3 separate regions of the Homo sapiens genome follow, and regions 2 and 3 are each linked to region 1. The links are contacts of gene promoters, found by promoter capture Hi-C in human tissues and cell types (Jung and others, 2019). All regions are on one chromosome and are shown on one strand. The core of a region is centred on a gene start or on the middle of the fragment in contact, and the rest is flanking DNA. Distances in the headings are between cores, read along the strand shown.

What was found. Contacts are between HindIII fragments. The study calls those that stand out against the background at their distance.
Region 2: a fragment that was not itself captured here is called in contact with the fragment with the promoter of VSTM2B in region 1 in 1 of the 25 tissues and cell types used here (hippocampus).
Region 3: a fragment that was not itself captured here is called in contact with the fragment with the promoter of VSTM2B in region 1 in 2 of the 25 tissues and cell types used here (dorsolateral prefrontal cortex and hippocampus).

What each region holds. Positions count from the first base shown.
Region 1 is chr19:29,524,584-29,527,283 of GRCh38, forward strand. VSTM2B (V-set and transmembrane domain containing 2B) reads left to right here and starts at 1,411. Exons shown (of 5, transcript NM_001146339.2): 1 at 1,411-2,082; 2 at 2,628-2,700. The coding sequence starts at 2,001. It overlaps VSTM2B-DT (VSTM2B divergent transcript), which reads right to left and starts at 1,167. Exons shown (of 10, transcript NR_040029.2): 1 at 841-1,167. The region is part of intron 1 of LOC124904683 (a long non-coding RNA gene); the gene reads right to left. The HindIII fragment of the contact is 17,468 bases long and covers 1-2,700 here.
Region 2 is chr19:29,483,608-29,486,307 of GRCh38, forward strand. The region is part of intron 1 of VSTM2B-DT (VSTM2B divergent transcript); the gene reads right to left. Among named protein-coding and RNA genes, the nearest start is that of VSTM2B-DT, 41 kb to the right of the region's middle. The HindIII fragment of the contact is 4,384 bases long and covers 1-2,700 here.
Region 3 is chr19:29,463,091-29,465,790 of GRCh38, forward strand. The region is part of intron 1 of VSTM2B-DT (VSTM2B divergent transcript); the gene reads right to left. Among named protein-coding and RNA genes, the nearest start is that of VSTM2B-DT, 61 kb to the right of the region's middle. The HindIII fragment of the contact is 5,057 bases long and covers 1-2,700 here.

The sequences.
Region 1 (2,700 bases), core at 161-2,660:
TTCTTCCCTTTGCCCCCAGCAGGAGACCTTAGAAAACAAGGGCTTGATAGATGAGCCACAGTGAGCCAGGGGGTGGGAGTGACTCCTGGGCCATAGACGAGGAAACTGAAAGGCAGGCACTGGAGGCAAGAAGGGCTGGCCCCGGGCACCCGCTGGCGAGGACAGCCTTGGAGAGGGCCTGCAGCTCCTCCCCTCTGAGCTGTGCTGCGCTGGCCGCCTGGACCAGGGTGGCTGCTGGAGAGTGTTTTCCCTCTGGGTTTCCTTCTCCTTGGCTCCCAGGGAATCCTCTGGCGGTGCCTCCGGGAGGCTGGTAGCCGGGGAAGCAGGCACGTGAATCCACCGGGCTGCCCCACCCCAACCTGAGGTCAGAGCTGAGGCGTAGGGGCCGGGGTAGGGGCAGAGGTGCCGAAACGCACTAGCTGGGGACTCCCGGGGGAAGGAGATAGGAGAGACCCAAGGCGAGCCTTAGGACTCGCCCCTATGACTATGACTACGCGCTGCGTCCGAACCACATGTCCACCCCGCATTTGCCTTCGGGGACCAGACCGCGCTCCCTCAGATGGCTGGGGAGGGAGCAGACTCCGGGTGAAGGCTGGGGGAGGTACCGGGATGCCGAGTACGCCAGAGCAGGCGGGGGATGGGTTCCGGCTTCCTGCCGCCTCGGCATCTCGCTTTGCACCGGGCAAAGAAGGGGCCACGACCGGCGAAGAGCGCGTGGAGACACAGGGACCCGCGATCCAGGGGCAGGAACCCCGCCCCCTCCCGGAAACCTCCCGGGCCCTGAGTCGTGCCCGGCGCTCCCCACCCCACCCCACCCCCGCCGCCCCTGCCGTCACTCACGGCCGCTGCGGGCTGGCTAGCGTGTGCGCTCTCCGCGCCGCAGGCACCTGCTCGCTGGGCGCTGTGCGCTCACTTCTCCCTCGCGCACTGCAGACTCCCGGCGCTGCCGCCGCCACCCAGCGTAGTCTCCGGCTGGGCACAGCGTTCCGCCCTTCTCGCGGCCCCGGGCGCCCACCCATCCGTCATGGCCCAGGCCTGGGCCAAACAGCGGGGCAGCTGGTTGCCCAAACTGGGGTAAGGAGTTGAGGGCTGGGAGCTGCAGAGAGGACCGAGGGACACACGGGGAGCAGGGATGAGCGGCCGTCTCGAGCCGTGCAGACTGGGAAGAAGCCAGGGAGAGTTTGGGTGGGAGGACTCCCAACCCAAGCGGGTGCGGGGCGGGGCTGTACTCCAACCAGAAAGACGGTGGTCCCTCCGAGCGACCCCCGAGGAGAGAGGGGGAGCGCTCTGGGGCGGGGGCGGGGCGGGCTGTGGCAGGAGAGGGGAGGGCGGGGGCGATGCAGCGGTGGAGGCGGCTTGGCGCCCAGCCACTGACCGCCCCCTCCCTTCCCCTCCCCTCCCCCTCTCCCCGCCTCTCTCCGGCTCCGGGTCCGCCACGCCGGACCCGCTCTCCCCGCGCTGCGCTGGGTCGGACGCCAGGTCTGCGCGCCGCGGCTGAGCGCCCACTCGCCCTGCGGAAAGAGCCGCGGAGGAACCGGCGGGGGCGGCTGCGGGAGCCGAAGGAGGTGGCAATCGGGAGCAGAACCAGAAGGAGACAGGGAGGCAGAAGCTCGCGGCTCCGTGGCACGCACTCCCTCGGCCAGGGATGGGTCCCGGCGCGGCCCAGCCCCTGCCCGGCCCGCCGGGCAGAGACTGAACCGCGGATCCCCACCGTCCTGTGGACGACCGGACAGAGAGAGGCACTGACCGATCGCCAGCAGCCTCCCGGTGGGACCGCGTCTCCTGCACACCCCGCGCAGCGCCCCCCGCCGGAGCCGCACCGGGCAAGCCGGCGAGGGAGCGGGGCTGATTGGCGGCCGCCGGCGGCCAGGGGAGGGGGCGCCGCGCGGGGCCATGGCAGGCTCGGAGGCGTCCTAGCCCGAGCCGGAGCCGATCCGAGCCCACGCGGCCGCCGCCTCTCCGCTCCCGGGCCCCCGCCGCCACCGCGCCCCCCGCGGGAGATGGAACAGCGGAACCGGCTCGGTGCCCTCGGATACCTGCCGCCTCTGCTGCTGCATGCCCTGCTGCTCTTCGTGGCCGACGGTGAGCGCGGGAACTTTGCTGCCGCTGTGGACTCGGGGGGGTCTTTGCTGGGGCCGCCACCGAGAAGAAGAAGAAAGAGAACGAACCGGGAAGCTTCGCGGTCTCCAGCAATCCCGCTGTGCAGCCTGGGCCCGGAGGGGTAGGGAGAGGCGAGCGGCGAAGGGTCGCCGCAGCAGCAGCGCCGCGCCCGAGTCGTTCCCAGTCCCGCCGGGGCCCCGGCTGCGGAAAGGATGCCTGCGGGGAGCGGGAGTAGGCGCGCCCCAGCCAGGCTCTGGCGGTGCGGCCAGGGGCGGGGGAGAAGCACGAGTCGCCCCTGCCGCCCCGCCCCATCCGGAGGGAAGCAGTAGGCAGCCGATGGCCGGTCCCTGCCTCGGCCCTGCAGCCGCTTCCCCGAACTTTGCTAGCCCCTCCGGCCGTGCGCCAGGGAGCAGCTGCGGGGTGGGGGGCACAAGGCCAGCCAGCCAGAGACCGACTGCCTCGCTTTAGGTTGCCCCAGGCCCCCGACCTACAGCTGGTCACGCCTCTCTCTCTCTCCCCACCCCCAGCTGCATTCACAGAAGTCCCCAAAGATGTGACAGTACGGGAGGGAGACGACATCGAAATGCCCTGCGCGTTCCG
Region 2 (2,700 bases), core at 46-2,545, 41 kb before region 1:
GAGGCGATGCCAGCACTCATCTCACAGCAGAGCATGTACCATCCTGTGCCATCCTGAGCACTCCTTGCACACTGTCATTTCCTGCCCATATCAACCCTCTGAAGGAGGGCCCATTTCCCAGGTAAGGAAACCGCGGCCGAGAGAGCTTACGGAACTCATTTGAGGTCACGCAGCCAGGTCTATCTGACCTCAGCTGATTCTTTGAAATGCTGTGTCAGGCTGCCCCCAGCAGTGACAAAGGTGACCTAGGATGGAGACATATTCCTTTAAAACAGCTGGAGTCTCCAGGGGTCAGGATGGATGCTTGAGTGATGGGTGCAGGCAGCCGGGCCCAGAAACCCTAAGGTGCTTTCTCTGCCATTACTCAGAGCCCCTCGATGTCCCCCCAACCCTTTCCAAAGTCCCTCAGCCTCCATCATGTTTGATCCTGAGGAAGAAGAGGTCTGTCCAGCCCCATTTTGCAGATGATGAAGCTGAGGCCAGAGTCTCACAACAGAGCAGACACCACATCAGGCCTTCTGACTCTGGGCCGTAGAAAGGCTCTGCAGAGAGGAGGTGTGGGGAGGACTCCTGTGAGGCCTGGCAGGGCATGGGATCCCCTCTAGCAGTCTCAGGCTATAGGCAGCAGAGGCAGAGAGTGAGCCTGGCAGGGGTTCTGGAGCTCCTGGCCTCTTCCTCGGCCTAAATCTCGGCCTTTGCAGCATGCGCATGTCAGCTGCACCTCTGACCTCACCAGGGGCTGCCAGCTGACTCTGATTTACCTGGAGCTTCCTGCTTCAGGGACAGTGAGGAGCCAGCCGGCCTCTCCTGGATCTGCACCCAGTGAGCTCCCATTCCTACCCTCCCTGGGGCCTGGGAGCTCAGGGAAGGCACTGGGCTGGAACAGCAGGATGGGCTGAGCCCATGGGCCATGGCACTGGGGACCCAGGTTCCTGTCTCCCCCAGACCACTAGATGACTAACAGTGAAACAGCAAAAGAACTAACGTCACTCACTCCATTTTTGTTTAAGGGGCCTTGACCCATTGCTGCCCACAGGCTAAGATAATTTTAGAGCACTGAGTTAAATTACGCAAAAACAGCAATCATGTCGTTTTTTTTAAGCTAACACTGAGGCTAAAGGGAAGTCTGTCAACAACCAACTATGTTTTGTTAAAGATTACAGGAGTATTGCCACCTGACCGAGGACAAATGTGTTCCCAACCTCCTCGGAACCTCGCTGGTGCCCAAACGTCTGAAGTCCTCTACCACCTCTTAATCCCAGCCCCCTTTTCTTTTCCCTGCCCTTAACTTAAAAAGAACCTGAAATGTGTCCTAACTAAAGATGGTACTTTAGGACGCTAGTCCGCCATCTTTGTGGTTTGCTGGCTGGTCTGAATAAACCTGCTTTTCCTCCCACCAACTCTCACCCCTTGTGTTTGATGTTTAAGCAGTACACAGCCGAACTGGGTCCTGTTACAACTGCAGCTGCTTCCCATATCTACGGGATCCCCATTGGTGTGGTGCTGACCGCCTGGAAGTCCTGCAGGGACTCCTAACTGTGAGGCACGTATCCCAGGAGCAGGTCTTGGCCTGGTAAGACTGTCCTAAGTCAGAGGCTAACAGAAAGCCTCCAGCCTGGTAGGATTTGAAAGGGGATCCTGGAAAAGTCCCCAAAACCTCCCAACTATGCCTGAAAACTCAGAGGTCTGCAACAGCCCCCAGCCCACCTGAGGAGGAGGTCTGCATTACTCCACCTCCAGGGCTGTCTGTCTTTTATCAACCCGGATGCAGGGGCAGCTTTCAGGGATGCATGGTATGGGGCGGATAGGAGCTACTGGGATGAGAGCGGGGCTGCAAGGGGAGGGGGCAGACTTCCCTATCCTTGTCCTACTTCATTCTCCCTCCATCCCTGCCCGGTTCATGCTCCCATTCCCACTTCACAGATGGCCCGGCCACAATGGTGAGGGGTGGCTGAAGCCAGGATTCAAATCCACATTACCTCACTCCCGAGCTCTTTTCCCCATGCAGGACTGCAAGGAAGAGAGGATGGATGGACAGGTCCACATTGTCACCAGTCCACCACCGTGGCCCCTGGGACACAGAGCCCCCACTCAGCCCACCTGGTCTGCCATGGACAGGATAAGTTAGCAAAAACCAAGATGAACAAAAAATATAGGAAATCTGACTATAAGTTAATAAATTTGATTTGCTACAGAAAATGCATCTACTTTTTCAGCATTCATGACCAAAATAAATACTTTTGACCACAAAAAATACCCTCTATAAGTTCCAAAATCATATAAAATGATATGGGCCACATTCTTTCATCACAATATAATAAAACTAGATGAGAATAATTAATGTTTAATGTTAAAAACCTAATCATTTAGGGTTTTGTGTGTGTGTGTGTTTGCGTGTGTGTGTGTTTTGGTTTTTTGTTTTTGTTTTTTTTCTGAGACGGAGTTTCTATGTTGTTGCCCAGGCTGGAGTGCAATGGTGTAATCTCAGCTTACTGCAACCTCTGCCTCCTAAGTTCAAGTGATTCTCCTGCCTCAGCCTCCCAAGTAGCTGGGATTGCAGGCGCCTGCCACCATGCCCAGCTAATTTTTTGTATTTTTAGTAGAGACGGGGTTTCACCATGTTGGCCAGGCTGGTCTCGAACCCCTGACCTCAGCTGATCCACCCACCTCGGCTTCCCATAGTGCTGGGATTACAGGCAT
Region 3 (2,700 bases), core at 191-2,690, 61 kb before region 1:
CTTTGACAAAATTCAACAACCCTTCATGCTAAAAACTCTCAATAAATTAGGTATTGATGGGACGTATTTCAAAATAATAAGAGCTATCTATGACAAACCCACAGCCAATATCATACTGAATGGGCAAAAACTGGAAGCATTCCCTTTGAAAACTGGCACAAGACAGGGATGTCCTCTCTCACCGCTCCTATTCAACATAGTGTTGGAAGTTCTGGCCAGGGCAATCAGGCAGGAGAAGGAAATAAAGGGTATTCAATTAGGAAAAGAGGAAGTCAAATTGTCCCTGTTTGCAGACGACATGATTGTTTATCTAGAAAACCCCATTGTCTCAGCCCAAAATCTCCTTAAGCTGATAAGCAACTTCAGCAAAGTCTCAGGATACAAAATCAATGTACAAAAATCACAAGCATTCTTATACACCAACAACAGACAAACAGAGAGCCAAATCATAAGTGAACTCCCATTCACAATTGCTTCAAAGAGAATAAAATACCTAGGAATCCAACTTACAAGGGATGTGAAGGACCTCTTCAAGGAGAACTACAAACCACTGCTCAAGGAAATAAAAGAGGACACAAACAAATGGAAGAACATTCCATGCTCATGGGTAGGAAGAATCAATATCGTGAAAATGGCCATACTGCCCAAGGTAATTTACAGATTCAATGCCATCCCCATCAAGCTACCAATGACTTTCTTCACAGAATTGGAAAAAACTACTTTAAAGTTCATATGGAACCAAAAAAGAGCCCGCATCGCCAAGTCAATCCTAAGCCAAAAGAACAAAGCTGGAGGCATCACACTACCTGACTTCAAACTATACTACAAGGCTACAGTAACCAAAACAGCATGGTACTGGTACCAAAACAGAGATATAGATCAATGGAACAGAACAGAGCCCTCAGAAATAATGCCGCATATCTACAACTATCTGATCTTTGACAAACCTGAGAAAAACAAGCAATGGGGAAAGGATTCCCTATTTAATAAATGGTGCTGGGAAAACTGGCTAGCCATATGTAGAAAGCTGAAACTGGATCCCTTCCTTACACCTTATACAAAAATCAATTCAAGATGGATTAAAGATTTAAACGTTAGACCTAAAACCATAAAAACCCTAGAAGAAAACCTAGGCATTACCATTCAGGACATAGGCGTGGGCAAGGACTTCATGTCCAAAACACCAAAAGCAATGGCAACAAAAGCCAAAATTGACAAATGGGATCTAATTAAACTAAAGAGCTTCTGCACAGCAAAAGAAACTACCATCAGAGTGAACAGGCAACCTACAACATGGGAGAAAATTTTCGCAACCTACTCATCTGACAAAGGGCTAATATCCAGAATCTACAATGAACTCAAACAAATTTACAAGAAAAAAACAAACAACCCCATCAAAAAGTGGGTGAAGGACATGAACAGACACTTCTCAAAAGAAGACATTTATGCAGCCAAAAAACACATGAAAAAATGCTCATCATCACTGGCCATCAGAGAAATGCAAATCAAAACCACTATGAGATATCATCTCACACCAGTTAGAATGGCAATCATTAAAAAGTCAGGAAACAACAGGTGCTGGAGAGGATGTGGAGAAATAGGAACACTTTTACACTGTTGGTGGGACTGTAAACTAGTTCAACCATTGTGGAAGTCAGTGTGGCGATTCCTCAGGGATCTAGAACTAGAAATACCATTTGACCCAGCCATTCCATTACTGGGTATATACCCAAATGACTATAAATCATGCTGCTATAAAGACACATGCACACGTATGTTTATTGCGGCATTATTCACAATAGCAGACTTGGAACCAACCCAAATGTCCAACAATGATAGACTGGATTAAGAAAATGTGGCACATATACACCATGGAATACTATGCAGCCATAAAAAATGATGAGTTCATGTCCTTTGTAGGGACATGGATGAAATTGGAAACCATCATTCTCAGTAAACTATCGCAAGAACAAAAAACCAAACACCGCATATTCTCACTCATAGGTGGGAATTGAACAATGAGATCACATGGACACAGGAAGGGGAATATCACACTCTGGGGACTGTGGTGGGGTCGGGGGAGGGGGGAGGGATAGCAAAAAAAAAAAAAAGTGTATTTTTATGGAATACATAAAAGGTAACTCTTGTGAGTTATGACTTTGAAAAAAAAAAAAAAGAAATTAAAATCATTTGAGAACCACTGACTGTAAAAAAAAAAGACAGACAGTTTATCTTAAGAATAACTGGTGTTCCTAAAGAAAAAAATCCAACAAGTAGAACAAAATATGTATTCAAAGATATAATACAAGAAATTTTCCCTGTATTGAAAAAAATAAATGAACATGCTAAAAACAAAACAAAATAAACAAAATAGCACAATGTGTTTTAGCAACATTTGATACAGAAATTCCAACACAAAGACACAGCCCATCCAATTAAGTTATTAAACTTCAAAGTTAAGAGAGAAATTTTTACATATCTAAGCAGAAAGAGAAAAATCACACACAATGGGAAAATCAGGCAAGACACTGACTTCTCTACAGCAACACTCAGAGCCCGACAAAAAGGTATTAATGTCTGTGTTTGGAGGGAAAGAAAAGGCAGCAAAGAATATTACACCCAGCCAAAGTTATTCATGTATAAAGGCAAGAAGCATCCATTCTGAAATGTTAAATACTTCAGGAAATGTAGAACACAGAA